Linked DNA regions of Homo sapiens: region 2 is linked to region 1. The links are contacts of gene promoters, found by promoter capture Hi-C in human tissues and cell types (Jung and others, 2019). All regions are on one chromosome and are shown on one strand. Each heading gives the region's core, a stretch centred on a gene start or on the middle of the fragment in contact. The rest is flanking DNA. Distances are from core to core; before and after follow the strand shown.

Region 1 (4,669 bases), core at 1,267-3,766:
AGATCTCTAATGCAGGTACTAATATTACCTCATTCCAATCCTACCCTTCCTTCTACACTTTCCCCTTCTATATCTTTGAATCCATCTGAATATGGTCCACTATAATCAGCCCTAAACCTACTTTTCTACCTTCTAGTCCCATTTTTCCTCTAAACCAATGTATTTCAAACCACACACCATCAATTATTGTACTATGAAACCCAATAAATAGTTAACAACCATATTTTTTCTATTTTCAGAATAGAAAAGAACAGAAAAATAAAATGCACTGCATACAATAAGAAGAGTAAGTATTGTTTAGTGTTTTATATGTGTATATATTTCCATGTGCATGTGCACATATAGAAAATAAAAACAATTTCTTGGTGTGATAAACTGCTGAAAAAGTTTAAAATCTACTGTGATAAGCACTCCTTTTTCACTGGCTTCACTGGATTGCTGTCAACACATTTACTTTCCAGTTCTTTATGCCTTTAAGCATACAGCCTTTAAGTATACAGTTCACTCATCTTGGAAGACTTAACCCATCATTTAGCCCAGAGAATTCCTACCTATTCTTTAAAGCTTGTTTGTTCATTCATTCATTCATTCAAGAAAACTTTGTTGGATGTGAACTTGCCAAAGACAATTCTATGGAACCTTCTCCTAAATAACCCCAACTAGAAGTGACTGCTGTCTTCAAAAGCTATTGTAGAAAGCATTTCACATCAACTTATAGAAAGCATTTCACATCAACTTATCTGTTTAATCTCCTCTATTCAGACTAAGTTAACCTCCTTTGAGGTAGAAACCAGAGTCTTAGGAATTTTTTTAATCCTCAGATTGAACCACTTCACACCCTAGGTACTCCTTAGCCATTGTCTAAAAAAAAAAAAATTCACTAAAAATCCAACCACATGTAATTCTACCTATGCAAATTATTCGAAAGGGTAAAATACCAGAAACTCAGAATGTCATTTGATCAACATTTTATAAAGCTAATTAAATCATAAGACAAAAAAATTTTAAAACCAACCAATAGGCAGGGCGCCGTGGCTCACGCCTGTAATCCAAGCACTTTGGGAAGTGGAGGCGGGCAGATTATTTGAGGTCAGGAGTTCGAGACCAGCCTGACCAACACGGTGAAACCACATCTCTACTAAACTACATAAATTAGCCGGCCATGGTGGCGGGGGCCTGCAACCTCAGCTACTCAGGAGGCTGAGGCAAGAGAATCACTTGAACCCAGGAGGCAAAGATTGCAGTGAGCCAAGATCGCGCCACTGCACTCCAGCCTGGGCGACAGAGCAAGACTCCCTCTCAAAAATAAATAAATAAATACCAACCAACAAACTAAATTTCCCTAGTTTTTCATCGACTCTTCATAAAGCTTCCATTCAAAGAAACAAAATGAGTAGGGAAGTTGTAGCTCAAGGTTCTAATTCTAGAAGCGATGCACCAATGACAGTGACATCATTAAAAAGGCCCCTAATGACTGTTAGAGCCGTCTCTAGAAGTTTTCCTGAATGACTTAAACTGATAAAACTTCACATGGACCAACATTCCCAAACATTTCCCTTTAAAATACACTTCCGAAAAATCACACGCACCATCTATTTCTTAGATCTGTAAAGCTCACTCATTTCACCAACTCCTGAAGACCTCTCTAACACAGACTTTTATGACTCTTCCAAATTCACCAAATTTCTTTCCGGTCCTAACTTCAGGGTTGATTCCCTTTTCTCTTCTACAGGAATCACCCCCACCCCAACAATGAAAGGAGATGAAATAAACCAGGAGTTGCAAAGACCAGCGGAGATAGTTACATAGCAGCCTGGAAAAGAGAAAAAAAAAATAAAGAACAAAAAGAGGCGTCTACGGCACCAGACGGTGTGCTCCTTTGTGCACCTATGTTCAGGTATCCCTTGCGCACCAGTCCCACACTTCGCTGGTACACATACCTACTGATAAAAATTAACTGTAAAAGTCAGAAACTCCCACGGTACCTTTCCTTTGGGCTTCTCAAAAATTTTAAGTGATGAACTGCTCTAGAGCTCCGCCCCTTCTTTCCTTACCCTAAAAGTGCAACTTCTGCTCTAGAGAGAAACTTTCTTTTCCCCGAACACCCGTTTTATCCCATCCCCAGGGGAAACGGGGGGAGGGGTTAAGAAAGAGGTCGCCTGGGGGCGCCCAACTCTGCCCTGCCACCCCTGGGCCACAGCCATGCCGGACTTACCCCCAAACAACATAGTTGGTCTTCACATTCTTGGGCCAGGAGAACTCCCCGAAGATCACTTCGTCTCCCTTCACCACAATCTCCTTCTTCTGGATGTTGTACTGTCGCAGGACGCTAAGCACGTCCGCCATCTTCCCCCCCCTCGCCTCCGCCGGCTCGGGGCGCCGCCGCTGCCGCCGCGCCTGCCTCCTTCTTCTCTTGTCGCCTCGCCCTCTTCCTCCTCCTCCTTCGCCGCCGCGACGAACCAACAGCAGCAGCACTAACAGCCGTCCTCGCCTACGACAGCAGCAGGGGCAGTAGCCACCCAGGCCGCCGAGGACCCCGCGCTGTAAGGCAAGGCCCCGCCGCCGGCTGCCCGCGGAGAACGCCTGACTGCGCCCCTCCAGCGAGGCACATCCGCCGCCAGGGGGAGCCGCGACCGCCTGGAAAAGTGCCCCTCCCAGACTTCAGCTGGGCACGGAGCCCACTCACTCGCTGAAACGCTGAGCGCTGGGGCACCGCGCCCACGTACGGCGCACGTACGGGGAACTTTGCCGGGCGCGCGCGCGCGGAGCACGTACCCAGTACCCCGCGGCGCGCACCAAGCGGCGTCAGGTGCGCGCGTACCTGAGCAGTGGGTCAGCACTTCCATCCCCAGCACGTGCACTGAGTATTTAACGAACTGTCTCGGGTGCGACCAGAGGCTCCCCCGGGTCCCTGCTTTGGCCGGGATGGAATTCGGCAAGGATTTGCGGAACACTAGAATTACCTTCCTATTTAGATCGGACCCAGGCCTAGCCAAAGACCTCTAGGACTTAGTGATCCGGAGAAGCCCTTTTGAAAGAGTGGGGCTCTTGGGGTTGGGGTTGGGGTTTTTTGTTTGCTTTTGATGTGGAAAAGAACGAGTTTTGGTTTTTTGTTGGTTTTGAGTGGAAAAGACCGAGTCCAGAAAAAAAAAAAAACAGTTCTGGGCACTGCTCGTCAAGTTACATAGCTTCTCACAGCATCAATTGGTTAATGAAGAAAATGGGGTTAATACGAAGATAAGGTAAACGCGCCTAGCAAGTCAATAAAATATCCTAAATGTTGGATCCTCCCTCTTCATTCTTTGGATGATGACTTTTTCCATCGCGGTCCCTTCTCCCCGCCAATCCCGAAGGGCTATATTCAAAAGGCTGTGTTCCAAGATGTAAATGGGAAAGTTGCCCTAACAGAAACCCCAAACGGTCCAATTTAGAACACTTCCAGACTACCCAATTTTTTAAATGGTACTCAGAAGTCTCAGTGGTGTCCTTGACATGCGTTTTGAGACGGTTAAGATAAGTTCAATATACTATGGCCAACCAAACACATCCTATGGGATTGTTTTTTTTCTTTTACCATGTCAGAAGGAAAAAAGAGGCAACTTTGTGTTTGACATAACCAAATTCCTTGACCTGTTTTGAAAAAAGTCAATCTTTTCACAACGCAGAGGACTACAGATACAGAAGTGTGTGGTTCATTTCCGATATGATCTGTAGCCATTCTGCAACTGTTAGTTTGTGAAATTTTTTTCTGTTCCACCAATGTTTTCACCCCGTAGTATTCTCCTGAATCTCACCCCAAGCACACACATTATAAAGAAATGGCTACAATTACCTATCCCCACATTCTCTATTCATACCTGTGTCAGAGCACTCAGTACCATATTACTTCCCTTTATAGTTTATTTGCCTGCATCCACAAAACTGAAACACCATAGATCTGTGTCCTCATATCCTACTGTCTAACATTATTTGGTACATATTAGTAATAAATGGATGAATTCAATAAATTGATGGAAGCTCCTAGTAAATATCGAGTTAATACATGGATAGAGGCTTCTAATAAATGTTGAAGTAATGAATGGAAAGATAAGCTCAAGGAAGCCAAGATTTCATGATTAGGAGGCTCGACTATAGTCCCTTCAAACGATACTTAATTTTATTTCATACTCAAATAATGATTAAAGTCTCTCTTTTCAGAGAAATTATGTTTTTTAGGTTAATGAATTTTAAAAAGTGGTAAGATAAGTCATTAGTAAGTTGTTGCTTTTAACAGTTAAAGCATTGAAATTTGTAGATCATTTTTTTCCTGACCAGCCTGGGCAACATACCTAGACCCTGTGTCTACAGAAGCAATTGTAGATCATTTTTGTTTTTATCTAAGTACCCTTATAATTGCCCTACCAATACTGGTTCATTGGAGGATGTCAAAATACAATAAAAGGCAAGATTAGTGGTAGAGCTGAAAAATTAGAAAATTAATTAGAAAAAAACAGAAAAATAGTCTGGTTTCTTTGTCTTGGGCAAAAGCAGTCCACATCTCCAGATATTAGCTCCTGAAGAATTCCTAAAAAATCTTTAGTTTTATGTCTTCTGTTAGAGTAAATGCCCAGCAATCAGAAGAAAGTGGTATGTCTTTTTAGTTGGAAACGATGGATCCAACATCATTACC
Region 2 (4,669 bases), core at 1,393-3,892, 1.3 Mb before region 1:
GGTTTCTAAGGATGCTTACATTGTCTTGACTCTGAAGGTGCCAATTAAAGCTATCTAAAGGGTTCTGTAACATTGAATCACTACATTAAAATTCAAAGTCCTGTAGCAGGTATATTTTTATCTATTTACCAAATACACTGCTCACCATGTGCTACTGGCTGTTCTAAGTTCTTTACATATTTTAATTAAAACTCATAATAACCCAAGAAGCTAGAGAGTGTTATTATGTCCATTTTATCCCCACTGTATATTTGAGGAAGATGAGGCGGAAGATAAAAGTAACTATGCCAAGATCACACATCCAGAAAGTGGTAAAGCCTCTCGGTATGCTGTTACCCTACTAGACAGACATTTGTCATCTGGTAGATAAGTTCAAGGAGCAGGAATTTCTGGCTACTTTACTTATTTTTAGTGCGAGATGGCATCCTGCTTCCCATGTATCTTTGGAGTCTCTCAAGTTGGGAATTTGGATAATGGTCAGCTAAATAAAAAATATGCATTACCCAGTTTGAAATATTGGGAGATGGCATCTGGAGGAGTTCTTGTGTCTCTCAGTAGTTAGTTAAATATGTGTCTCCTGCCTCTATAGGCACCCACTTTCATTATTTAATGTTTATTCAGTTATCCTGTGTGCCTCATATTTCACTCTGGGAAGAGCATTCTCTAGATGAGAGAAGCTCCCTTTATAAATGTAATGCGTGTGCCCACAACTTAAATAGCACTATAATCTCCTTTATAATTACCTGGCCCCTTGTTTTTCACATTAAAAAAAAAAAGAAGGAATGATGTTACTGGGTGAGAAAAATCATATGCTTTTATTCTTGACTTAGCTAGGAAATGCAGTTTTAATGTTTTTATGTATGTAATAATACTTGCTAATACAATACAAATAGGAAGCATTACTTTTAAATAAGTAAAAAATAAAAAATGCACCTCCATAAGATGAGGAATTGAGATAAAACTAAAGTCATAAAGCAAGATAATAGAAAAAAAATCAATCAGTTATATATATACACATATATACACATATACATATATATATATACATATACATATATATATATATATATATATATATACATATTTTAAACTCATCACTTCGAATAGAAGTAATGTCAGATTGAATACAAAGTTATTTTTCATGGGAAATATCAAGAATAGTACCCGGGCTAATATATTAAGCCTTCATTAAATATTTGCTGAATGGACAAACTGTTTCCATTTAAAATTTAGGTAATAGGAGACAATAACTCCCAAATAAAAAGACTATATAATACTGATTAGAAAAGTTCAAACAAAATTATGATGGAAATTAGTAATGAAAACTGGCATAACAATGTTAATTTCAGACAAACTAGAAAGCAAGGTAAAATTGAAACTTTTAAAAATTGTAAAATGGACATTAAAATTAAAAAAATATACAGTTGGAAATATTTAGGCTTCAAATTACATGACGTCAAATATAAAGGGAAAGCTGTTGTTCTCTAGTTGGTTCCTTAGAACTCTCTGTCAATTTAAAACATTTTAATATTGCTTATCATAGGCCTAGCAAAATGTATATACTAAAAAAATCACTAAATTATTATCATTACTTTTATCATTGCTATTATTACCATTTTATAACCTTTAAGTATTAAAAATATCAGTTAAGAACATTAAAAATAGCAAAAAAGTCAATGTATTAAGATTAAATAATAATTTGACAAAATATCTGAATATCTGAATTTGTGGAAGAGACAGTTTGTTTTCTACCCTACTACCCTTTACTTTTTTCTTACTCATGTTATCCCCTTTGGAGGATATTTCCCAGTAATCATTGCAGGTAAGTTTGGTTATGTAACTATTATTTCACACATAAGGTACAAGTTGAACCTTTGAATACTTTGTGGATGACTCCATAAAAGAGAGGGGAAGAGTGTTCTAGGTAGCCGGGGTGCTTACATTTACTGTCATACTGAATCCCTGGAATAAAGGTATGATAAATGGATATTCAGCAACTCAATTTGGGCCATGCAGACAGAAACATGAGTCTGGAAGCCACATGATAAGTATTGTGGAGGAAAAAAATAGAAGCTTAATTATTGATATAAATCCTGAACTTCAAATTACAGACTTGTTGGCATGAAAACGAAAGCAACTTTTATCTCCTTTAATTCACCGTTGTTTCTCAGTCCTCTTAATAGCAGCTGATTATAATTCCTAAAGAAAACAGTATATTATAAAAATATCAATGAAATAACTAGGCAAAAATACATAAAGTTTAGTAGATTTTTTTGTGTCAGCAATACCAGTTATAATAGGCAATGAAAAAATGGCCCATTCAGAAAAGTAACGTAATTCTTAAAATACATTGAAAGAAATATAATGAAAATTATGCAGAAATTATGTGGAGAATCCATGTGCTATTGAAAATCTGACACAAAGCCTGGGCTTACCAAGTGAAACTAGTGACCTTGCATATTCCTTCTTCTTGGCCACAGTGCTTCAAGAGTGACCTAAATTGATCCAATCAGATTGAATCTCAAAAGTTTACTTCACCAAGATCCTTTCTCTAACTTGGATATAAAGGGAACTAGCTGGAGGAGGAAGGAGGAGAAACCCAAGAAAACCAGAAAACCAGGAATAAAGCCTGAGATCAGATGATGTCATGCCTATCTTTTCAAACTGTGTGCATAAATAACACCAGTACTAGTTTTTCAGCATTATTTAACTTCTACCAATCATATCTGTGGTTGAAGGATACTTGATTTAGGTTTTTTTGTAACCTGCAACTGAAAAAATTTAATTGAACTTGAACACTTGGAAAATAATACACAGACCTAAGTGTATAAAGTGACAAGACATAGTTTATTAAAGGATCAAAGACCTCAGCCTCATTTCCTTGGTAGAGCTAATAGGCAGATCTAGGCAGTTAGAATGAAACACCAGATAGTCTGTGGGAGAATAAAACCATTGAGCATTACAGCAAGAGGAAGATGCCAGCCTGAAAGGTAATGCAAACTTCACTGACAGAGAAGGAAGAGGGGTTATGGATAATTTGGAACAAAAAGAACATTTACCTGATTATTATGTTTGTGGGTTAGAACTTGCTATCCATTGTTTTACACAAGAAACAAGCATATAACAGATTTATCTGACACAGTCTAGGCCATATAGTAAGTAGATCCAAGCCAGGTGATCGGGCATAGCTTTGTATTTCTACTACCATTTGATAACAAAATATGATCGAAGACAGTAATATCTGACATTGGTATGGATGGGACAGGTAAAGGTTTGAGGTTTTCTTGCTGGTTTTTATCAAGTCTTGGTTTACTGCTGAATAACAAACATCTCTCTAAGTTAGCTGGTTAGCAAATGAAAGAAGTTGCAATAATCTACTTAAAGAGTGTATCACAGTACAACTTCCCTCTTGTATACTTTTTAAATTTCACACTATGCCCCATAAGCCAGATTAGAAAGTGTAGTTAGCCAAGGGTTAGATAACCAGCTAACTCCCACTTTTGAATGAGAACAAAGACCTGAGGAGAGATGGTCCCACTGACCCCAAATTCTACTGAGATCCAGAGGTCTAAGCCAGCTGTGGTCCCTGTGGCACCCTCACTCTCTCCCAAATATGCCTATGACATTGGAGGACTGCTATGCAGCATAACTGGCTTACCGTGAACAAGCATATGTTCAAAGGTTTAATGGTGTGGATTTTGGTTTCATCTTCGCAATTAGCTTTTGTGATTATGTAAGTCTCTTAAACACAGAACCAATTTTATCTTTTGAAATGAGAATAATAAAAACAATAATGTCAGATTGTTTTGAGAATTAGTTAATGCATATAGAAAGCCCAGTAAAGGGCCAGAAAGAGAAGAGAATTTCAATGAAAGATAGTTACTAATTCTTTTCTCTACTTAGTAATTATTCCCCAAGATCAGTGAGTATAGTTTCACAAACCACTTCATACTTTCATGCTCATTGGCAAGAGAAATCTAATGAAAATCATACCCAGTGGTTTTATTATTTTATTACTGCTTAGTTGACAGAGGTATTTGCCAGAAAATATTTCACAATGTATGATGGATTTTCACCAGGTAAAATGATGATATTAACACTGAACTGTCAGAGAAATGAATCAGGATAATTTGCTTTGCGATACACTCTACAATATCTAAAAGACTCTATAATTCCTAAGTATATAGATAAAACGAAGAATGTGTTCCTAACAATATGTTTCTAAAATTTAAAAAATGGTGTTGGAAATACACCTGTATTCAAATACAGCAGTATTTGAAGAAACTAAATAAATATAAAATATTTTACCAATTGTGACATCAAAGTAAACATAATTAAAATATAAAGAAAACCCAGAAATATATAATACAAGCTTTATTACGAATAGATTATAAAAATTGGCAATGGAAATAAACAGTTGGCTTATGAAAGAAATGTATAGAACTAAACAAAAACAAAAAGTGCAATGTTAGCAATACACTCTAATTTTTTTTTGCATATAAAATTGTTAGAAGCATTAAAAGACTGTATTTTCCTCAGCTCTGGAGAGATTAATTATTTCTTATTTATTTCTGGGCATTTAAGTAGAAGGGTGTCTCTTGAGCAAAATCTGGTAGATTTTAAATAATTCATATTTTCACTTATAAGACCATGATGAAATATTTAAAGG

Evidence for each region. Contacts are between HindIII fragments. The study calls those that stand out against the background at their distance.
Region 2: a fragment that was not itself captured here is called in contact with the fragment with the promoter of CDC73 in region 1 in 1 of the 25 tissues and cell types used here (dorsolateral prefrontal cortex).

The regions. Positions count from the first base shown.
Region 1 is chr1:193,119,878-193,124,546 of GRCh38, reverse strand. CDC73 (cell division cycle 73) reads right to left here and starts at 2,516. Exons shown (of 17, transcript NM_024529.5): 1 at 2,216-2,516. The coding sequence starts at 2,346. RefSeq lists enhancers at 2,079-2,128, 1,728-2,372, 2,399-2,468, 2,373-3,019 and a silencer at 2,629-2,708. The HindIII fragment of the contact is 7,057 bases long and covers 968-4,669 here.
Region 2 is chr1:194,385,706-194,390,374 of GRCh38, reverse strand. No RefSeq gene overlaps it. Among named protein-coding and RNA genes, the nearest start is that of LINC01031, 1.1 Mb to the right of the region's middle. RefSeq lists a silencer at 3,069-3,269. The HindIII fragment of the contact is 4,998 bases long and covers 144-4,669 here.